Linked DNA regions of Homo sapiens: regions 1 and 3 are each linked to region 2. The links are contacts of gene promoters, found by promoter capture Hi-C in blood cells and fetal thymus (Javierre and others, 2016). All regions are on one chromosome and are shown on one strand. Each heading gives the region's core, a stretch centred on a gene start or on the middle of the fragment in contact. The rest is flanking DNA. Distances are from core to core; before and after follow the strand shown.

What was found. The method cuts DNA at HindIII sites, captures the fragments that hold promoters and counts their contacts. A CHiCAGO score of 5 or more calls a contact.
Region 1: a contact is called between a fragment that was not itself captured here and the fragment with the promoter of ZNF232 in region 2, in 1 of 17 cell types (naive B cells). The highest score is 5.0, in naive B cells.
Region 3: a fragment that was not itself captured here is called in contact with the fragment with the promoter of ZNF232 in region 2 in 2 of 17 cell types (naive B cells and total B cells); the score reaches 5.5 in naive B cells.

Annotation. Positions count from the first base shown.
Region 1 is chr17:5,471,446-5,474,145 of GRCh38, forward strand. DERL2 (derlin 2) reads right to left here. Exons shown (of 7, transcript NM_016041.5): 7 at 1-2,700. Among named protein-coding and RNA genes, the nearest start is that of DHX33-DT, 3.7 kb to the left of the region's middle. The HindIII fragment of the contact is 2,819 bases long and covers 18-2,700 here.
Region 2 is chr17:5,110,472-5,113,171 of GRCh38, forward strand. ZNF232 (zinc finger protein 232) reads right to left here and starts at 1,407. Exons shown (of 4, transcript NM_014519.6): 1 at 1,329-1,407. The coding sequence starts at 1,351. ZNF232-AS1 (ZNF232 antisense RNA 1) reads left to right here and starts at 1,464. Exons shown (of 3, transcript NR_135658.1): 1 at 1,464-1,630. RefSeq lists an enhancer at 1,718-1,767. The HindIII fragment of the contact is 2,670 bases long and covers 803-2,700 here.
Region 3 is chr17:5,384,508-5,387,207 of GRCh38, forward strand. It overlaps RABEP1 (rabaptin, RAB GTPase binding effector protein 1), which reads left to right. Exons shown (of 18, transcript NM_004703.6): 18 at 1-1,833. It overlaps NUP88 (nucleoporin 88), which reads right to left. Exons shown (of 17, transcript NM_002532.6): 15 at 2,477-2,603; 16 at 2,201-2,319; 17 at 326-1,762. The coding sequence ends at 1,699. Among named protein-coding and RNA genes, the nearest start is that of NUP88, 34 kb to the right of the region's middle. The HindIII fragment of the contact is 8,945 bases long and covers 1-2,700 here.

The DNA.
Region 1 (2,700 bases), core at 177-2,676, 360 kb after region 2:
ATGTCATACAGACTTGAAGCTTTATAGGGATTCAGAGACAGACAATAAAATAGGCCTTAGAGTCAAGATTTTTTGAGGAATCAGGAACAAGGCCAGGCCTTGAAGAACTGAAGAGACTTAAGTTGAGGTCCCTGTTAGGTAGAAGTGGGAGTAAAGTTAAGAAAAAAACAAGTATGCATATAATGTAGGGGCTTACTAAGAAGTCACTGTGGATTTCTGAGCAGAGGAGTGACTTGATCATACAAGATTCAACAATTTTATTGCAAACTCATAAAATATGTTTAAGTAGCCTGGAGACATCCTACAGAACACAGAAAATAATGGCAGGATCATGACTAACAACATAGCTGGAACTCACCTGTCAAAGAAAAACAGCTACAACATAAAACACTGGCAGGATAGATGACAATAGTTCTAGGAAGCCCATTACTCAACATGGCAATAGCTCCAATGCTTCCTTATTTTCAGAGGCCCCAGAGACTGAGGGTTTCATTATCCAGACCCAGGACTTAGGTGTTCTGCTTCTAGAGACTACACAAGAGGTATGAAAGATATGAGGACATACAAGAGTGACACAGAAAAAACAAGAGGAAGAGAGAAACAAATAGAAATCCATACTGGAAAAAAACGCACCGAAATGTATATAAAATGTATCTCCTAAGGAGATGCAATTTGTATGTCCATTTATTTTTAAATGAACGTATACCGTATTTCCATAACAAACAAAAAACACTATGCTTTAGTCAAGTGTGCTTTTCAGTATCACTAGAAGAATCCAGGAATCCCTCAAATTATGTGTAAGGTTAGTTGGTTGGTCTCAAAATTCCATGTATCAAATCTCACTTTCAGTTTATTTGCATTGTGAAAGGGAAGTGTGTTCTGGAAGAACTAAGATTGAGAGGTAAATTGGGGAGAAAGTAAGGACTTTTCCTTATGTCCATTCAAGCACAGGTATCCTGTCAAGCAACACAGGGCTAGGAATGGTGGTTGTAGGGCTGGCCAAACTGATGAGAGGTGATTGAAATTACCACTGCTCAGGACACAGTGTAGTCAGTCACACAGCAGGGCATCCTGCCACTGGGAACTTGCACCCTATAAAATCGGAGAAATCAAAAACCCTGTAACTGCCTGCCTTTAGGCTGTATATTCAAAATGTATTTCCTGTTTTACCTAGTCATTAATGTATACAGATATTCCCTACTTAAATGAACAGTGAGTTAACAGATTTTAGGATTAGTATTTTACCACAAAAATGCCATTCATTGCATAACTCCAACTCAGGGAGAACAAATAAAACTAGAGAAACTCATTTCTAGCCCAAAAACAATTTAAAAAAAAAAAACAAAAAACAAAATTCTAACAAACGTCACTGATAAAGCGTTCTTGAGCAAAAACAAGATAGGATAAAACTTAAGAATCCCATAAGGATTATACATGCTAAGATTGGCTTTTAAACTTTGAAAACCTTTTTTAAACTGCTTAAAAAGCAGTCCCATAGACCCAGGTTCCATAAAATTGCAACAATCATATTCAAAGTTATTAGCAACATGTAAAATACTTAAATACCATTAGTTATGCAATTCCATTTAAAGACATTAAAACACTTTTCACTTCAAAAACAATCTGAAAATTCCTATTTAGGATGTCCATTATGTTTAAGCCTATGTCTATCTTTCTGAGGACAATGTCACATTCTGGAAAGCTACCCCTTAACAAAGGTTGAATGAACTACTACTAACAATCCACTTTTGGGAAAGGGACCTGTGCCTACATGCCGTTAATGAAAGCTGTTTGGAATCATCTCTTTCCTAGGGGTGCTCTTTCGACTCTTCCAGGTTCTGGAAGTTACTTAAGCAGTGTGAATGCAAACCTGCTGAGACTCAGGGAAGACTTAATATTTAGGGGAAGTATTTATTGAACCACAGCATTAAGTGTCTACTTCTGTGGACCCTGTCTAATTTCTACCTGATTGGGAAGGTAATCCAGGTACTTGGCTCTGAAAAGGTTCTTGAATTTTCACGAAGCAAATGACTAATGTTAACTAGCCAAAGACCCTGGAAGAACATATGCCTAGCTAACTGGTATCTGTTCGTCTGGCTCCAAAGTCAACATTCTAACTTGGTTTCCAAATCTAATGAAAATCTGAGACCCTGTCTCTATTTTTTTTTTTTAATTAAAAAAACAAAAAACAAAACAAAACAAAAAAGGCAAAAAAAAAAAAAATGGCTGGGCATGGTGGCTCATGCCTGTCATCCTAGCACTTTGGGAGGCTGAGGTGGGAGGATTGCTTGAGTCCAGGAGTTCAAGACCAGCCTGGGCAACACAGTGAGACCCCATCTGTATTTAAAAAAAAATTTTTAATTAAAACTTTTTTAAAAATAAAAGAAAAAAAAAGTCTAATGAAAATCTTCCTAGTTTTACAAAAATGTGGCCCTTACCAATCTTTCCCTGGATACTTCTTAATGGAGAAATGTAAGTAAAGCAAATAAGATGCCACATTAGCTTACAGCTGACTTTCCTATAGCTGAATTCCTACTGCTACAAGAACCATCCTCCCTCCTTTTTTTTCATGTTGTCTGACAAAGTTTGGCAAAACCCAGATGCAAAACAACCTATCCAGATGACAGAAATAAATCATCTTCCTGCTGAATCTTGCATTCTGAGTTAGTAAGATGTACACAACCACAGCATGACAGCCAC
Region 2 (2,700 bases), core at 157-2,656:
TTGAAGCAAAACCCAAGTTTCCAGATGCAGAGCCCAGAGCCGAGCAGCTTTCAGTGCAAGGTGGAATGTGTTGGGGAGGCAGCCTCCTCTGAGATGGCTCCTCCCTGCTTTCAAAAATTTCTGAAGTAGTAGCTACAGCAAAAGAAAAATATAAGTCCCCTTTAAGGAGCTGGATCTCATTCAAATGCCAAAGCCCTATTAAGGGGCAGCTATGAACAAGTCTCGGGTACAGTGGCCTGCGTCAAGGAAATCTAACAGGTGTAAACCAAAAAAGCATCTGAGATAGGTCTCAACCAATTTAGGGGTTATTTTGCTAAGGTTGAGGATGCACCCAGGAAAAAGACACACAAGCCACAGTAGGATCCGTGGCTCGCACTTTTACCAAAGAGGGTTTTGAGGGCTTCAATTTAATGGGGAGAAAGCTGGCAGGAGGGGAAGGAGGAGAGAAGAGGGAGGGTATGTGGTGAGGTAAGTGGCCACATTCTTGTGAGGATTTGATTAGAGCTCACTGAATCCACATGTTGCACGTGAAAAGAGGAAGTCAATTATGAATTTGTCTCGTGCTCAGTAAATCTGCATTTTACACAAGATAAGGTAGACATACAGTAGAGGAAGAAGTCAAATATGCTTTGTCTCTGGGTGGGTGGAGGAACGATTTCTAGTCTTGTCCGGTGAAGCTCGGCTGTTCGTTTCCATTGCCAGGGTGAGGGAGGCCACCTGGGGGCATATGTTGCTTTCTATCTTGCAGCTATCGGTTTAGGAACAAAAGGAAAAGCAGTTTTTTTCCGTGACTCAGTTTCCAAGCTTAACTTTTCCCTTTGTCATAGTAAGTTTGGGGTCCTGAGATTTTATTTTCCTTTCACACAGGGAAGGAGGTGGAACGCATCAGAGGCCACGAAAGGAGCACAAAGGGGGACCGCTGGCCTAAGACAAAGGAGGCGCGAGGAAAAACGCGGAGCTCGCGTCTCCCAGGGTGATGCCCGGCGCCGCTGGCCCCAGCAAAACTTCTCTACCCCGGCCTCGGGCAGGTGCCCGCCCGGGGAGGGGGCTGTCGTCCAGGCCAGGTACAACTCCCCTTCCCACCCTTCACTCCCTACCCAAGGGTCTCGAGAAAAGAGAAGAGGAACATCAAGACCCCCCTCCACGGCACGTGACGCGACGCAACGCAGGTAGCGCAGCGCGGGCACCACGGGCAACCCAAACCCCTCTCCACACACAACCGCGGAGCTGCCTGCCAGGCCTGCTCACTGCAGAGCCGCCGCTGCCTGCGGGACGGGCAAAAGCCAAGCCGCCAGGTGGACCTCGGGGAAGCCGCCGCCAACACTCACCTCACAGGACCAGGAGGTTCCATCGGGGCGCTGCCGCGAATCGCGCCACTTACAGCCCTCACCCCAGGGGCAGGTTTGCGCCTGCGCAGGTCGCAGCCTCGGCCTCCAACTCCCAGAATCCTCCTCGCCGCCGGCTTCCGTTCGCGGACTTTGGCCCAGGCGCGTGGGCGCTGCCGAGAGGCTGGGAGCCCGGGAACCGGTTCCTGGACTTGAGCGGAGCGAGAAAGAGCGCGCCGCCTGCACGACTGGACTGGAGCGGCCGGGTGCCCTGGAGGCCCCTGGGAATTGCAGTCCTTGCGCAGGTGGAGAGTGAGCCCTTGTAAGCGGGTGACTTCATCAAGTTTGGGGGGTCTCTTGTGGAATTGTACCTGAAGGGCGGTGCTGGCGGACAGATGTCAGGGAAATTCTGGCCTTGTCCATGGCCTGTGGTAACACTTCTCCATGAGTTCTATTTTCCAATTACCTCTTCCCAGACCTGATGAGAGGGCCACAGCTAAGGAAGACGGTCCCTTCCACGAAAAAATATTCCCCAACCACTAGCCTGTACAATTCCTGGGGCGTAGGGGGAGGGGAGGAGAAAAAAGAATTCTAAGGTTAATTTTATTGCGATGGGGGAAATAGGGGTTGGTGTTTTTTTGTTGTTGTTATTTTTTATTTTATTTATTTATTTGAGACGGAGTCTTGCTCTGTCGCCCAGGCTGGAGTGCAGTGGCGCGATCTTGGCTCACTGCAAGCTCCGCCTCCCGGGTTCACGCCATTCTCCTGCCTCAGCCTCCTGAGTAGCTGGGACTAGAGGCGCCCGCCACCACGCCCGGCTAATTTTTTTTTTTTGGTAGGAGACACGGCGTTTCACCATATTAGCCAGGATGGTCTCGATCTCCTGACCTCGTGATCCGCCCGTCTCGGCCTCCCAAAGTGCTGGGTTTACAGGCGCCCGGCCGATTATTTTTTATTTTTTTTTTGAGACATGGTGGCCAACATGGTGAAACCCTGTCTCTATTAAAAATACAAAAAGGTTAGCTGGGCGTGGTGGCGGGCGCCTGTAGTCCCCACTACTCAGGAGGCAGGAGAATCGTTTGAACCCGGGAGGCAGAGGTTGCAATAAGCTGAGATTGTGCCACTGCACTCTAGCCTGGGCGACAGAGTGAGACTCCGTCTCAAAAAAAAAATTAATTAAAAATAAATTTATCTCACTATCAATTTTGCAGGATATTGATTGATCCAGTCTCTCAATACTTTTATAAAATAGCTTAATCCTAGTCTCTCCAAGAAAAATTGTTGTTCAACTGTGTAGTACCATAGTAACAGTTCTCAGATTCTCAGATTATTAAATTTGTTTCTCCAAGATATAGTATCCTTGAAAATGCGCATT
Region 3 (2,700 bases), core at 201-2,700, 270 kb after region 2:
GAGTTAGTGAACTAGGTAGATTGTTTTGTTCACATAACGCCACCATCAACTTAAAGTGAATTGTCTTTGTTATAAATGAGGTCACTATGGACTTACCCTAAAGATCTTCTGTACTTCTGTCTTCCATAGGACAAATGATAAGTACTACATACCTCATCTCTTGGGTTATTATTGTAGTCTTGCATTCATGGTTATGAATTTAAAAATAAATACCAATTATGGAAATAGTACTAAAGGCTTGCCGCACATGAAACATTATTTTAATTGGTTTAAAGTCCCTTTATAAAGAGTGCTACATGGTTTAGATAAAGGAAACATATAACTATTGAGTTACAGGGGATTTTATTAATTATAAAATGCAATCAATTTAAATTACGTAGGTTTAAGACTAGTCCCTTGGATAAGCCCCAAGCGAATTTGTCTTCAGATTATTAAAATTAGTGCTGTAAATCAGGGTGGGCAATTCACAGCCTTTCTGAACTGACTGAACTAGAGCTTGCAGTGAAGTGTTCTGCTGAGACTGAGCACCTTACAGATATTTTTCTCCAGAAGATGGTGCTGGGTAATAAAATCATCACAATTAGGGAATGGTTAGTGGTCTCTACTGTGGCAAATGCCAACTGTTGGAATTCACTTTATTGTAGAAAAACCCAAACTGAGACTCTTAAGTTTTGTTTAGCAATGTGTTTCTGGTATGAAACAAACTACTGTGTCACTGTCCAGGTAGGAAACAATTCTTTCAACTGGGTTTTCAGCATAAATGGGAACTGATGTAGAAGGCAGGATTTAGCCCTTCTAGGCAAAAGAAAAGCTCAGTTGGGTTTCACGAGTGTTCCTGTGCTTATATTCAGTCTGTGCCTACATGTTCTCATGCATGTCTAACCTGATTTACCTCTTACCTGTAACCTACCTTATCATGTGGCTTTTAATTGACAGTCACTCAGCCATTTCTAAGCAGATATAGTAGTACCTTTCAGAACTCACATTGGCAAGTGTAAAAAGATGACTTAAGGTGAAGTGAGGACAAAATCACATTCTGCATACTAACCTATTTTTTTCTCCCTTTAAGGTGCTAAACTTGCACCTCATGTCCACTCAGTAACAAGTATTGGGACGTAGAGCACAGCCTCACTCAGCTCTGAAAGGTAATACAGCTTGTGAGGAAGTGAGCCAGCAGTGGCCTTTGCAATTGTGGATCTTGAGCTCTGCTCTCAGCAGATTTCAGGTGTAACCATTTGTTAACTGTACTGAAGGTGTGTCCTCAAGAAGAAAGTGTTCAAATTAAAAAAGCTGCTGCCAAGTACACTGTGTGGTCTTCTCCTTTGAATCCTAGGGTTCTATCCCTCTTCAGAGTCATGTTTCTGGTGCTGCTACTTTAAAACACAGCTCACAAGAATAACTAACTTGCTCAAATATGGAGAAAACTCAATAGGGTTCAGGGAGGTTCTGGCAGTGTGCAGTGTGAAATAATCCTGAGTCCTTGCTGAACACAACTGTAGGCTTGAGTTATAAAGCACATTCCAAATTTTAAATAAAAGCATTTACTCAATTATTATAAAACAACATATTTAAAAAGATGAACCACACCAAAGGTCATCAAAACACCTTTTTATAAATTAGATAATTCTACCTGTTTTACAATATGGGTTTAAGCCTTCAATGGTGTTCAGTTCAGGTGTGAGTCAGCTCCTGGTGGTGTCAGAAGTTTACATGATTGCGGATATCATTGATTTGCTTCACCATTTCCCTTATATGTTCACCCCTGTAAAATTGTAAAGTCACTCACTTTTGGAATTATAATAAACCATTTATATGGATTCTTAAGAATTTAAACTGGTAATGTTGAAACATCTAAGAACTGCTTTGCTAAAATTAACAGCTGAAGGTTTCAGGTGGATAGCAATAGTGTTCACTATTCATTTAAGGTGGCAAACGGTGCAAGTACTGGAAATATTTTTGAACATAATTACTGTAAAATACCTTTGGCCACACAACAAAATCATGTTACTAGAAGGTCATCCCTTTCAATCCTCCCACCATAGTCATTTCTTAAGTCCCTATGTATCATGTGGCTCTCATCCCAGTAATTACTTGACATGCAAATACCAAGATTCAGGTTTCTATTAAGACAGGTTGATTCTGGCATACTGTAAAGGAAAAACTATCTCACGATAATAGCTGATTGGAAGTATTTACTTACTCCTCTTTCAGGATGGACTGAATGCACTTTCGCTGGTAGGCACTGAGAATAATGGTGGGTTTTGGAAGACTCAACACCTTCTCCATCTTTTGCTGTTGATAATCCTTTTTCATAGTAACCTTAAGTATTAAAATAATAGATATTTTGGCAGTGGTTTGCCACACATTTTCACAGTATCTATTTGAATCTGTTCTTTTTACATTTTTGTAAAATTTTCTGTAGAATAAGTGCTTTAAGAAAAATTACCAAATTTAGCTAGTTTGGATCTATTCCTACCTGTTTGATGGCATTGCCCAAATGTCGAAGTTGATCAGGTATCAGCTGTAATTCTTTCTTCATGTCTCGCTCACTATCAGAGAGAACTGGGAGCTCAGAGTGAAAACTGTGAAGTAGTTTTTTCATCCTTTAGAAAAGGCAAGCAAACATCTCAATTTAAGGTCTCTACTAATTAGGAGAAACATAATCACAAGCTCATAATTCATGAATCTGGTGTTTCTGAA